Linked DNA regions of Homo sapiens: regions 1 and 3 are each linked to region 2. Evidence: promoter capture Hi-C in 16 types of primary human blood cells and fetal thymus (Javierre and others, 2016). All regions are on one chromosome and are shown on one strand. Each heading gives the region's core, a stretch centred on a gene start or on the middle of the fragment in contact. The rest is flanking DNA. Distances are from core to core; before and after follow the strand shown. Region 1 overlaps NEK9 (NIMA related kinase 9). Region 2 holds the start of BATF (basic leucine zipper ATF-like transcription factor). Region 3 has its middle 48 kb from the start of FOS.

Region 1 (4,291 bases), core at 1,771-4,270, 430 kb after region 2:
TACAGGTGTGAGCCACTGCACCTGGTCCTCTGTGGCTATTTCTTTCCGCAGTATTGTCTGGTTCCTCACTCCTCTTCTTTTTTTTTTTTTTTTGAGACACAATCTCACTGTTGTCGCCCAGGCTGGAGTGCAGTGGCGCGATCTCAGCTCACTGCAACTACCGCCTCCCAGGTTCAAGCGATTCTCCTGCCTTAGCCTCCTGAGTAGCTGGGATTACAGGCACTCGCCACCATGCCCAGCTAATTTTTGTATTTTTAGTAGAGATGGGGTTTTGCCCTGTTAGCCAGACTGGTCTTGAACTCCTGACCTCAGATGATCCACCCGCCTTGGCCTCCGAAAGTGCTGGGATTATAGGCGTGAGCCACCACTCCTGGTCACTCCTTCTCTTCTGTACTGCTGCTGTTGCTATCCTACATTCCCTTCCTTCTTTGCTTGCTTTTTTCCTCTTTTTTCTTTTTCCTGTGTCATCATCTGAACTTCTAAATTTTTGTAGCCACTTTTTTCACTTGACTGGTAACAACTCACATTTCATTTTCTCTCTTTTTCTTTTTGAGACAGAGTCTCGCTCTGTCACCCAGGCTGGAGTACAGTGGTATGATCTCGGCTCAGTGCAGCCTCCACCTCCCGGGTTCAAGTGCTTCTCCTGCCTCAGCCTCCCAAGTAGCTGGAATTACAGGCGTGTGCCACCATGCCCAGCCAATACATTTAATCTTCTTATCTTTTGACTCATCAACTTTTTTGTTGTTGCTTGTGCTCTGAGATATCCTTGTTTTCTTTTGGTCCATGCCTGTTCTGTACTCATGAGGGGTCTCAGGGATATTGTGATCTGTTACCATATTTAAATAAACCAGCATTCAGAACAGCACATTAACTCTCTCTGCTTGTCCCAAAATAAGGGACTTTAAGGAGCAAACTGTTTAGGTCAGACTTGGATAAATGGAAACGTTACACAGGACAGTCAGGATGTCACTGAAGATAAATTTAGTGCAGCAACTGCAGTAGCACTTTCTGACAGGGCTTCAGAGAGCTCATGTTTCTTGAATAGATCTGTGTAGTTCATGACTTTAACTTCAGAATGAGGAATGTAAATTTGGATTCTGTGGCTGGGCATATTACCTCTTGATGTTCCTATACTCCTCTGAACTGTACTTGATGGCCTCATTCATGTCCAAGTCCTCTTTTAGGCTCTAGGAATATAGAAATGAGTCTCAGAAAACTCCTGCTTTCAAGGAGCTCACACTCTAGTAGAATAGGGGACTAGCACAGGCAGGTGTTAGGTGCTATAATAGCAGCAGCCTAGTCTTCTAAGTCCTGGAGTACCCCAAGGCTCACTTGTCTCTCCAAAGTGAGCTTGTTCCCTTAAATTCCCCCTATACATTGACTGCTTTATATCACCAGGCTTGACCTTCAGACTCATTTATTCAACAGCTCCTCAACTTGATGTCTAAATTTAGGGTGGGCCATATAACCCAGTTATCTTAGACCAATCCTGATTCATGCCTTCATGCCTGTTGTCCTGGCTTAATGATTAATAGCCACCCTGTTTCATTTTTTTTTAAAAGCCTGATTTGGATAAGAAGTTATAGGCATCTCAGACAAACTTAGTATACTCAAAATCAAACTTCTGATTTTCTGCCCAGATCTGTACCTCCTGCAGCCTTCCTGTCTCAGTAAATGGCAACTTCCTCCTACACTCCACATCCCATCCATATTGGTTATCTTCAGAATAAATCCAACCACTTCTCACCATCTCCACTACAACTGGTCTCCCTGCTTCCATCCTTGCTCCCCTGCCATCAGTTCTCCTCAGTAGACAGAGGGATTCTCTTAAATAACTACTGCTCAAAACCTCCAGTGGTTTCCTCTATCAGTCAGTAAGTGCCAGAGTCATCACAGTGGCCCGACTGGCCCTATGTGAGCAGGACCTCAGCCACCTCCTGACCCCTTCTGTTATTCCGTCCCTTCCTTTACTTTGTTCTAGCTGCAGGGGTCTCCTTGTTCCTTGTTTGTGCTGCTGACATTACTTTTGCTGTTGCTCTTCTCTCTGCCTGGAAACTCTTCGTCACTCCAGTAGATCTCTGTTCAAGTGTCAGAACTCCTCTGACCTACCCTATCTAAAATAATGATATCCCACCCCACTGTTACTCTTTGTTTCCACTTATTTTTCTCCACCATTTATCTTCATAGCATTTATCACCACCTTAAATATTAGGTGTATATTTATTATTATCAGTCTCCCCTACTAGAATGTCAGTTCCACAGGGCAAGGACTTGGTTTTGTTCACTGCTCTATCACCCCATGCAGTACCTGTCATGAAATAGATGTTCAGTCACTGTTTGAATGAATGACCAATAAAAAGTTGTTGAAGAAAAAGGTGAATGATTGGATGAATGAATGAGTGAATGGCAGTACATAGGAAGAGTGGGCATTTTTACCCAAGTGGAATCAGGAAGAGTTTAAGCTTTATATAGGAGAATAAACAGCTTTCCCTTGTTTAGTACATAGTGGGAAGTCTTTCTAGCTCTAGGATATAAAGATGGGGAACCCGGAGAATTGGGAAGCCAGTGTTCTGTTAAATGGTCTACTGTTTAACTTTTTTCCTAGATAATCACATTTTTGCCTGGGGCAATGGTGGTAATGGCCGCCTGGCAATGACCCCCACAGAGAGACCACATGGCTCTGATATCTGTACCTCATGGCCTCGGCCTATTTTTGGATCTCTGCATCATGTCCCGGACCTGTCTTGCCGTGGATGGCATACCATTCTCATCGTTGGTAAGAGTTTCATATGTCTGGGGTTGGGATGGCTTTGACAGAGGATGGACCCACATCTGAGTACTGTTAGTCACATTGTTGGAAACAGAAATGTCCTGAAGAAGCCATTTCTGTAAGTCTTGTAATGGTCAAGGATGCCATGCCTAGTGGTGGGAACAGAACATTGTCATTTCCTGGAGCTTTGCTATCTGCCATCTCTTGATTATTTTTTAATATAAGTTTGGGCTCTGCCTGCCCCCTTAGAATTGATTTTTTTGGTTGTTTTTTTTTGTCTTTTTTTTGAGTTGGAGTTTCACTCTTTTCGCCCAGGCTGGAGTGCTATGGTGTGATCTCGGCTCACTGCAACCTCCGCCTCTTGGGTTCAAGCAAATTCTCTTGCCTCAGCCTCCCAAGTAGCTTGGACTATAGGTGCCTACCACCACGCCTGACTAATTTTTGTATTTTTGGTAGAGATGGGGTTCCACCACGTTGGCCAGGCTGGTCTAGAACTCCTGACCTCAGGTGATCCACCTGCCTCAGCCTCCCAAAGTGCTGGGATTACAGGCATGAGCCACCGTGCCTGGCCCTAGAATTTGTTACTTCTAATCATCCACCAATTAATTTGTTGTCTGTGCTCATGCTTTCATGAGAAACATTCAGTACATCCTTTAAAAGAAACTTTAAATTATAAGCACTTTCTGCATAAAGATTACTTTGTTAGGAACTACTTTATAAATGCCTGTGTAAGGGTTTATAAGTCTACTTTTAGATCAGTGGTTTGCAACCTTAGCAGCACATACATTAGAATCCTTGAGAAGCTTTTTTTTTTTTTTTTTTTTTTTTTGAGACGAAGTCTCGCTCTGTCGCCCAGGCTGGAGCGCAGTGGTGCGATCTCAGCTCACTGCATCCTCCCAGGTTCAAGCGATTCTCCTGCCTCAGTCTCTCGAGTAGCTGGGACTACAGGAGTGTACCATCACACCTGGCTAATTTTTGGATTTTTTAGTAGAGATGGGGTTTCACCATATTAGCCAGGCTGGTCTTGAACTCCTGACCTCATGATCTGCCTGCCTCGGCCTCCCAAAGTGCTGAGATTACAGACATGAGCCACTGAACCCGGCCAAGAAGCTTTTAAGAATACCACGGTCCAGACCCTATCCCTGACCAATTAAATCAGAATCTCTGGGGTGGAACCTACAGACCTATGCAATGTTACTTCCTTTTTTTAAATTTTGAGACAGAGTCTCACTCTGTTACCCAGAGTAGAGTGCAGTGGCACAGACACAGCTCACTGTAGTTTCGCTCTCCCAGGCTCAATTGATCCTCTCACCTGAGCCTCCCAAGTAGCTGGGACTACAGGCCAGTGCCACCACACCTGGCTAGCTTTGCATTTTTTTTTAGAGATTGGGTTTTGCCATGTTGCCTAGGCTGGTCTCAAACACATGGTTACTTTTTAAAACTTCCCAGGTGATTCCAGTGACCAGCCAAGGCAGACAGTTGCTAATGTAGATAGTGAATATACTTAGAATAGCAAGTGGT
Region 2 (4,548 bases), core at 789-3,288:
ATCTTCTGGTGCTGAGCCCAATGGCTTTCCAAGACCCTTCCCCGCTAGCTACTCTGCACCCCATGTGGTCTTCTGCTGCATTCCTGAGCTGAGGGTGCATCCCAGATCTGCCTCCTCTTTCCTTCCGTTGTGCTCAGCCACTGTGACATTCCCCATGGCCCCAGCACAATGCCTGGCACATCAATGCCAAAAAGAACGTTAATGGTGGAGGTGACCTGGCTGTGGTGGGCAGTAGATGGGTGCTTGGTAGGATAAGGGGATCTTTGGGTGTTCTCTAATTACACCCAGAGAGAGGCATGTCCTGTGCCTGGGCAGAGAGGTTAGCTCCAGTTCTCTCCCAGATGCTGCAGTGTAGGTGTAGGAGTCCTGGCAACTCATGCCCTGTTCCCTTCCACGTCTCCCACAGGCTAGAGGGGCACAGATCCAAGGGCAAAGCTCTGGGATCACTAAGTACTGGGCTCACCAACATGTCCAATACTTTCAGGCCTTTGTGGTAGGAGGTCATTGGCATAGATAGGAAGGAAGTGCTCTTCCTCTAAGGGGGATGGGGCACCAGGTTACCATGGAAGCCATGAGTAATTTCCTTCCTAAGAAAAGTACAAACTTCCAGGCAGTCAGAGCCACTCTGACACCATCTTGAGCAGCAGACTGGATTCTGTGCCTTCTAGAGGTCTCCACCCAGACTCATCCCAGCCTGCTGCTCCGTTATTAGAGGCTTAGGATATACGCCCTGTTCAATATTTATATACTTTTATTTTGGCTGCAGCATTTTGAAAACCCTTGTGGATATCTGTGCTAAGGAAAGAATGAAGTTTTTAAACTATGAAGGTTGAGAAAATTTTAACCCACGGATACATGTCGGATGAGAAAGAGGAGGGCTTCCTACAGCAAGGGATGTCAAGAGTGTGGTGCAGAACAAAACCCTAGAAGCTGTGAGATGGGCAGGGCACTCCTTTTTTGGTAATCCTCAAGCTAAAACCTTTGGACTTGGAAGTCACAATCTAGACTCCAAATGCTCCCACAATCCCTATCTCAGTCTCTCTGGTTTCCCCAGAGCTAAGATGAACTACCAGCAAATGTCTTCCAACAAATTTCCAGAGCCACCTCCTCATTCATTTCCTTGCTCCTATCCAGAAGCCACAAGCAAAGAGATATTGGCTGGACCTCTAGCATCTCCCCTTGCTGGCTGTGCTAGCAACAGAGGCAGTGCCCCAGTAGAGAGATCCTTCTATGCTAGCCTGGGTTTCTCCTCCTCCTCCTCCTTCTTCCTCTTCTTCTTCTTCTTTTTTTTTTTTTTTAACTTTTCCCTAACCCCTTTTCTCCCCTTCCCTATTGGCTGTCTCCTGGGAAACTGCATATCTAGGATTTGAGCTGTGCATGCCAGCGGCCCACTTGAAAACTCCTCTCACTTTTCTACAGCCTTGGAGAACAGTAGACTCTTTTCTCTGCATTCTTTGATGTTCATCCTCCTCTTTGCTTCCTAGAAAGCTTTTTAGGGTGGCAACCCCAGTGAGGCAGAGGTGATAGGCAGCCTTGGAAAATGGAGAGAAAAAGGGGCTTTGGCAGAATGGGTGGAAGGATGAGGATCTCTGCCAATATGCACAGCTTAGTAGCAAATTCCATGTCCTAAGTCTAACAGAGTGCCCGTGCAACGAGCCACTTCCTCCATCCTCAGCTCCCTGGGCAGGACAAGGAAGCCTGGCTCTCTTTCCATCCCCCAGGAGAATCAGAAGGTAGGAGAGAGAAAAAGGAGGACTCTACCTGTTTGCCAGGGGGAGGAGAGCGGCTGAAGCTGGAGTCACTGCTGTCGGAGCTGTGAGGCATGGCTGAAATCTTCCGGGCTCTCACACTCAGCCCCAGGCACCTCTGGGCTCTCTTGTCACCAGCTGGGCTCCCTTCCTGACTTCTCCTGGGCCACCAGCCCACCACCCCCTACAGGTGCCTCCTCTGCCTGCCCTGTAGCCACCTCTGACCCCTGCGTCCTCCTCACTCTGGGGTGCAGAGGGACTGCTCCCCAAAGGGACATGTCGCTCGCTTTGGGGCTTGCACGCTCTCTCTCTCTCTTGTGGTTTCTGGTAACTCACGCTGGAAGTCACATGGGCGGAAACTTCAGCGAGTTAGAAGTTAGAGAGAAAAATACATATCTGGGAAAAGACCTACAGAATTATGTGAAAGAAAAAAAAATACAGATACCTTCCGACAGTTTGAAAGACACAGCAGCCCTCTTCAATTGATGAAGATAAAAGAGAAAAACAGCCCAGGCAGGGAAAAACCCCAGCCAGAATTAGCAAGTCCGTCTTCTGTCAACATGGGCAGAGAGGAGAGGACAACCAGGAAAATGTTTCCATTGTCATACGACTTGATTTTTAAACCAAAATAAAGCAAAAACACTGGGATTTCTTTCTGGTTTTCAGCCGAAAGCAGCTGCTCACCCATCTTGTCTTTCCTCACCCCTTAAGTCCAGCCAGCCTCGGGGTGGTCTGGAGATAAGACGATCCAAGGGTATTCTCCTTTCCTGACCATCAAACACAAGGGCTGTGGGAGATCAGAAAGCCACAAGGGAGGTTCTAGAATTGCTGCTCTGAAAGCCTATTAAGCGCCTGTGCTGCTTGGCAGGGAGCTCACACTCTTTAGAGAAAAGATGCCTTCCATATTGAGCAGCTCAAGACAGGCCCTGAATCTTTATGATTCAAGGTCACCTGGTCAGAACCCAGAATGCAGAAACAGTTAAAAAAAAAAAAGAAAGAAAGAAAGAAAGAAAAAGTGAAACAAATACTACACTTGGAGTCAGACCAACCAAGATTTAAATTCTGGTTCTACCACTTTGTATGTCTGTGGCCCTGGGTAGCTCACTTGAGCTATGTGACCTTCATTATCTTCATCTGTAAACAGAGGATGATAAAACCTGCCCTGCCTACCTCTTAGGAATGTGGCACAAAGCAAATGACAACGCGGATTAGAATGCCCCGCAGACTCTGAAGTAAATGACCGAGAGGGTAAGTGTAGGGTATTCCCAGCCTTGCCATGAGCGCATTTGTAGGGTTCTCAGTGATCAATTCAACCCTCACCTGGGCATCGTGGCTTTTTCAAAAGGCCTTACCTTATTCCCAGTATGGCTCGAAGCCAAACATTTGCCTTATTAAATTTTAGGATTGACAGGAAGTTACGGCTCCTAGAGGATTTTTGTATCCATGAGCTGAATTTCTAGACTAAGACAATATTGCCCTAAGGTTAAATTAAGTAAGACAAAATTCCTTTCCTATGGAGGAAAATAAAGCAGGGTTGGAGGTTAGGGAATTCTGGGTGGTCAGAAGGGCCTTGCCCAAAGAGGGGATACCTGAGCAGAGATTCGAAGAAAGAGAGGGAGTGAATGGTGAGTGTCTCAGGGAAGGACATTCCAGGACCTGAGGTGGAAGTGTGCTTGAGTATTGGAAAAAGAGCAGGGGGGCCAGGTAGTTGGATATCAGAGGCAGCAAAAGTGGCAGGCGATGAGGTCAGTGAGGTAATGGCCCGGTCAGGGAGGGCCTTAGAGGCCAACATCAGGATTTTAGCTTTCATTCTGAAAGACACAGTGAGCCCATGGAGGGTTTCCCCTTCCACCTTCATTCTTATCCTCTACCTCAGCTACTATTCATTTCTCCCATAGCAGTTACCCAATTTTATACTTATTTTATTCGTTTACTGATTTATCTTTTTCCTGTTTCCCTCAATAGAATGTTAAAACCATTTACACCTTTATTAATATATTCAACAAACGTTCATGGTGCATCTACCATGTGCCAGGCACTAAGTACTGAGGATACAGTTAGTAAAAAGAAGCTTGACTTTTTGTCTAAATGAGATAGTCTATCAGTGTTCGCTGCCCAAAAAACTACCAGAAACTTCGATGACTCAAGCCATTTATTTGGCTCATGAGTCTGTGGGTCATCTGAAAGGTTCTTTGGGGATAGGCTGGGCTAGGCTGATCTCGGCTAGGCTCGGTCATGTGTCCTCAGACAGCTGGTAGGTTGGCTGATAATTGACTGGTCTGGCCTGGCTTTGCCTTGGGCATTTCTCCTCCACATGGTCTCTCATCCACCAACAGGCTGGTCGGAGCATGTTTATTTGATAGTGGCAGGATTCCAAGAGTAGGAGCAGAAGCATTCGAAGCCCCATGGAACCCAGGCTCAGAGCTAGCACAGAACTCAGAACCTGCCACATTCTATTGGCCGAGGAGAGTCACAAGGCCAGTTCAGACTCAATGAGTTGAGAAACAGACTTCACTTCTCGATAGGAAAAATTTAACTAATTGTGGCAATTTCTACAATCTCCTACAGATGAGAAGCCATTGGAGGTGTCAGAGCAGAGGAGTGACATGATCTGACTTAGGTTTTTAGAGGATCTCTCTGGACACAGTTGAGATTTTACGATAGGGGAGCAAAGTGGAAGCAGGGAGATGAGTCAGGATTTCAGTATTGGATTACTGCAACCATCCAAACAAAAGATGCTGGCAGCATAGGCCAGTTAGACAGTGATGAAAGTGGTGAGAAGTGGGCCCTGTAAAAACCA
Region 3 (4,283 bases), core at 1,764-4,263, 290 kb after region 2:
AAGCCTCTAGTTGATAAGAGTGGCCCCTGGTGACAGCTGCCAAGACAACAAAGGCCTCAATCATACAGATGCAAGAAACTAAATTCTGCCAACAATCACGTGAGCCTGGAAGAGGACCTCAACCTCCAGAAAGAAATGCAACCCGGCAGACACCTTGATTGTCAGCTTGTGAGACCCTGAGCAGAGGACTTGGTTCAGCCATACCTGTACCCCTGACACATGGAAACTGTGAGATAATACATTGTTGTTGCTTTAAGCTGCTAAATTGTAGTAATTTATTACATAGTAGTAGGAAACTAATACCACCACCCCTCCCAAGAATTCTTCATCTTCTGGATTCTGTAGCACATTGCACTCATCAGTATTATAACCCTCCCTACACCATATCATACTTATCCCCCACACATCTGCCACCCTACTGTCACTGCAATCCCAGGCCCAGTCTTCTTTGGGCGTGGTACCAAGTATCTGGGAGCTAATAGGTAGGAAGTAATACATGCTTGTTGAATTAATGTCATGCAAACCCAAAATTGGCTGCTATCTCTACTGCCTGAGTATTTTTAACAGAGGTAATCTTTTCTTTTTCTTTTTCTTTCTTTTCTTTTCTTTTTTTTTAGACCAAGTCTCACTCTGTTGCCCAGGCTGGTGTGCAGTGGTGTGATCTCAGCTCACTGCAACCTCTGCCTCCTGGGTTCAAGCGATTCTAGTGCCTCAGCCTCCCGAGTAGCTGGGACTACAGGCGGGAGTCACCACGCCCAGCTAATTTTTGTATTTTTAGTAGAGACAGGGTTTTACCATGTTTACCAGGCTGGTCTCGAACTCCTGACCTCAGATGTTCCACCCAGCTTGGCCTCCCAAAGTGCTGGGATTACAGGTGTGAGCCACCGTGCCCGGCCAGAGGTAATCTTTCTGACATCTTGTGTGTGTGTAGGGCTGGCTCAGTTGTCCATAACATTTTGTATGTACATACATAGATTTAATTATTAATTTAATGAATTCTATAGTAGCCCCTAAAAGAAGATATGGTTTCAGATTTCCCCTCTGGTTTTAGGCTATAACATTTCTCTTGAATGTTCTGAGAATATCAGATCCTCCATGACAATGTCTTTAAAATTGTGTCGAGTAACACTAACCCTTAAATGGGCTGTGGGCAGCTGTCAAGTTTCAGGCCTCAACTCTTGGCAAGACATTGTCTCTCTCAGAGGCCTTTAGAATGTCTCCAAAGCACGCTACAGTGTATCTGCTGAACTGTTAGCCAACAGCCTCTGTATCTCATGGGCAGGTATCAGTTTCACTGTTGTAATATCCCCTCAACAACCATTGCAATGGCCAGGACATGTGGCCTGGCCTGTGGTTCAGAAACATAGTCACTGTAGCCATATATGACCCCAGAAACAGGGAACAGGTCTATGAGGTTGATTTGCCTGATTCCTACTCCACCCCCACATATGTGTATGCACACACACAGACACATACATGCATGTGTGCACACACACCCATATACATGCAGGTGTGCACACACACCCATATACACGCATGTGTGCACACACATGCACCCACCTTATTGGCGCCACTGATAATATAAAATACCTGTAACAAGGGACAGAACTTTTTATTTTTCTATGTGTAAGAAGATTTATGGGGTAAAAGCTCCTGAATAGGCCGGGCGCGGTGGCTCGTGTCTGTAATTCCAGCACTTTGGGAGTCTGAGGCAGGTGGATCACAAGCTCAAGAGATCAAGACCATACTAGCCAACATGGTGAAACCCCATGTCTACTAAAAATACAAAACTTCGCTGGGCGTGGTGGCGCACTCCTATAGTCTCAGCCACTAAGGAGGCTGAGGCAAGAGAATTGCTGGAACCCTGGAGGTGGAGGTTGCAGTGAGCCAAGATCACGCCTGGGAAACAGAGCGAGACTCCAGAAAAAAAAAGAAAGAAGAAGAGAGAGAGCGAGAGAAAGGAAGAAAAAAGAAAGGAAGGAAGGAAGGAAGGAAGGAAGGAAGGAAGGAAGGAAGAGAGAGGAGGGATTTCTCAAGGATCAGCGTATCTAAGCCAAAGGCCTTAGGGGAAGGGAGAGAAAGGAAGTGCGGGGCTTGGCAGGCACCTCTCCCTGCCTTTGATTCAGACATTCCTGGTGCTTACTGGGTGTAGACACTTTTCTCTCAGCCTGCTTCCTTGTAGGCAAAATGGGTGTAATAATCGCACTCACCTCATGGGGTTATTTTAAGAATTATATGAAACAATGCATGTTAGGCAGACAATTCAAGGCTCAGCACACAGAAAGCCACCCTTTAGCTATTACCAGTATTTGACCTGTAATCAGGCTCAAAGAGTGTCTTTTAGGGTCTCAAAAATTGGGTGCAAATTGGCTCTCCTCAGTAGTTGGTGGTTGCTCATCAGGTGTTTAGGACGTCTGCAAAGTAAGGAGGTCTGACAGACTCCTCATTGTAAGCTGTTCCCTAGTCACTCTGCCCCCATACTGGGAGTGGCAAGGGAGGCATTTGGCAAGAAACCCAGCAGTGAGACAATAGGTGTGAAAGATGAACAGGAAGTGTGGTTTGGAAGCAAGTGCTAGCACCAAACCACTCATGGAGAACACCTAATCTGGCTGCTGATTGGGCGCTGAGCCATCACTCATATCAAGCTTCAATGGGAAGGTTTGTATCCATGCCCAAACTTACAGCACACGGACCTTCACCAGGGAGATTGACTGAACTGGTGACCAAGGGCTCCCTTGAGACAGCATGGCCTTTGGCCTTCCAGGTTCAAATCCTAGGTCACTCAGTTACTACCTGAGGCACATTATTTAACCTCTTGGAGCCCCATCTGTCTTATCTTTGAAACAGGCATGGCTGTTGGGAGGGTTAGTGGAGATAACATGGAAAGAGCCTAGCACAGGGCCTGGCCCACTCCACAAATGCGAGCTCCCTCCCATTTCCCCTCCCAGGCATCTGAGACACCCCTCCACCCCTTCCTTGTCTCCTCACTGAAGACAGTTAAGCATGCTGTCTGGGGATGACGCCAGTTCTTGATTATTTGATATTGCCACACATCTGGCCTTATCACTGACTATTGACTATAAGACTGGCTGCCCTCTGCTCCACCTGGCTCCTTCCGGCCAGGTGGCTTCTCCTGACGCACTTGGACAACAGTGAAGGGTTGGGCCAGGTCGCCTGGTGGCACCAGGGTTGATGTGAAAGAGTTTTTCCTCAATATTCCAAACTTAAGAGAAGGAATGACTTTAAAAATGCATATGTATCTGCATGCCTGAAACACACACCTTTGAGAAGTTTCCTTCCTTTGAGTACCCAGACTGCAGTTGTTCTGACAAGTGCCCTGCCTGATCCTCCCTCTGAACACTTTCGTAGTTCCCAAGCTTCTCTTCCAGATAATCTAGGGTTCCTGTTTCTCAGCTCATCTCCTAAATGTTGGGGTTCTAGGAGATTCTGCCGTCAGTGCCCCCACCCACCATGCTCTCTGCATGACCTCAACCACAGCCATACCCTGCTGAGTTCCGAATCCATCTGCCTGGCTCTTCTGCCCACACATCTGCATACACAGCTGCCTCCATTTCCACCTGGTGGTTCTTAGACTTAACGTGTACAAAACAGAATGATGGATCTTCTTGACACACACCTAATTCTTCTATATTCTGTGCCCCAGTAAATGGCATGTCCTGCAAACCCAGAAGCATAAGCAAATCTCTTGATCTCCCTCTTCTGTTAATTCTATTTCCTTAGTATCTCTTGACTGTATCCCCTCCTTCCCATCTACCTTCCACCTCTGCATTCTGGCTGCCGCTGTATCTCCCCTGTAACACGGGAACCACGGCCTCAGTGGGCTCCTTGCTTCTAGTCGTTGTTCTCCACCATTGCCCCTAGAGACAACTTTCTAAAATGTAAATCTGACGGCACGCCTCCTCTTACTTAAAAATCTCTCAGCCAGGAGCGATAGCTCACGCCTGTAATCCCAGCACTTTGGGAGGCTGAGGCGGGCAGATCATGAGGTCAGGAGATTGAGACCAGCCTGACCAACATGGAGAAATTCCGTCTCTACTAAAAATACAAAAATTATCCGAGCGTGGTGGTGCATGCCTGTAATCCCAGCTACTCGGGAGGCTGAGGCAGGAGAATCGCTTGAATCCGGGAGGCGGAGGTTGCAGTGAGCCAAGATTGTGCCATTGCACTCCAGCCTGGCAACAAGAGTGAAACTGTCTCAAAAACAAAAACAAAAACCTCTCAAGGGCCCTTTCTCAGTCAAGGTCCAGACGGGGAACTGAAAT

The links. The method cuts DNA at HindIII sites, captures the fragments that hold promoters and counts their contacts. A CHiCAGO score of 5 or more calls a contact.
Region 1: a fragment that was not itself captured here is called in contact with the fragment with the promoter of BATF in region 2 in 1 of 17 cell types (neutrophils); the score reaches 5.6 in neutrophils.
Region 3: a fragment that was not itself captured here is called in contact with the fragment with the promoter of BATF in region 2 in 1 of 17 cell types (activated CD4 T cells); the score reaches 5.2 in activated CD4 T cells.

Annotation. Positions count from the first base shown.
Region 1 is chr14:75,095,585-75,099,875 of GRCh38, reverse strand. NEK9 (NIMA related kinase 9) reads left to right here. Exons shown (of 22, transcript NM_033116.6): 17 at 2,606-2,776. Among named protein-coding and RNA genes, the nearest start is that of ZC2HC1C, 28 kb to the right of the region's middle. RefSeq lists a silencer at 615-812. The HindIII fragment of the contact is 1,111 bases long and covers 2,465-3,575 here.
Region 2 is chr14:75,519,959-75,524,506 of GRCh38, reverse strand. It overlaps BATF (basic leucine zipper ATF-like transcription factor), which reads right to left and starts at 2,038. Exons shown (of 3, transcript NM_006399.5): 1 at 1,762-2,038. The coding sequence starts at 1,824. RefSeq lists an enhancer at 1,741-2,070. The HindIII fragment of the contact is 2,331 bases long and covers 1,491-3,821 here.
Region 3 is chr14:75,228,547-75,232,829 of GRCh38, reverse strand. No RefSeq gene overlaps it. Among named protein-coding and RNA genes, the nearest start is that of FOS, 48 kb to the left of the region's middle. RefSeq lists a cis regulatory region at 2,532-3,087. The HindIII fragment of the contact is 732 bases long and covers 2,648-3,379 here.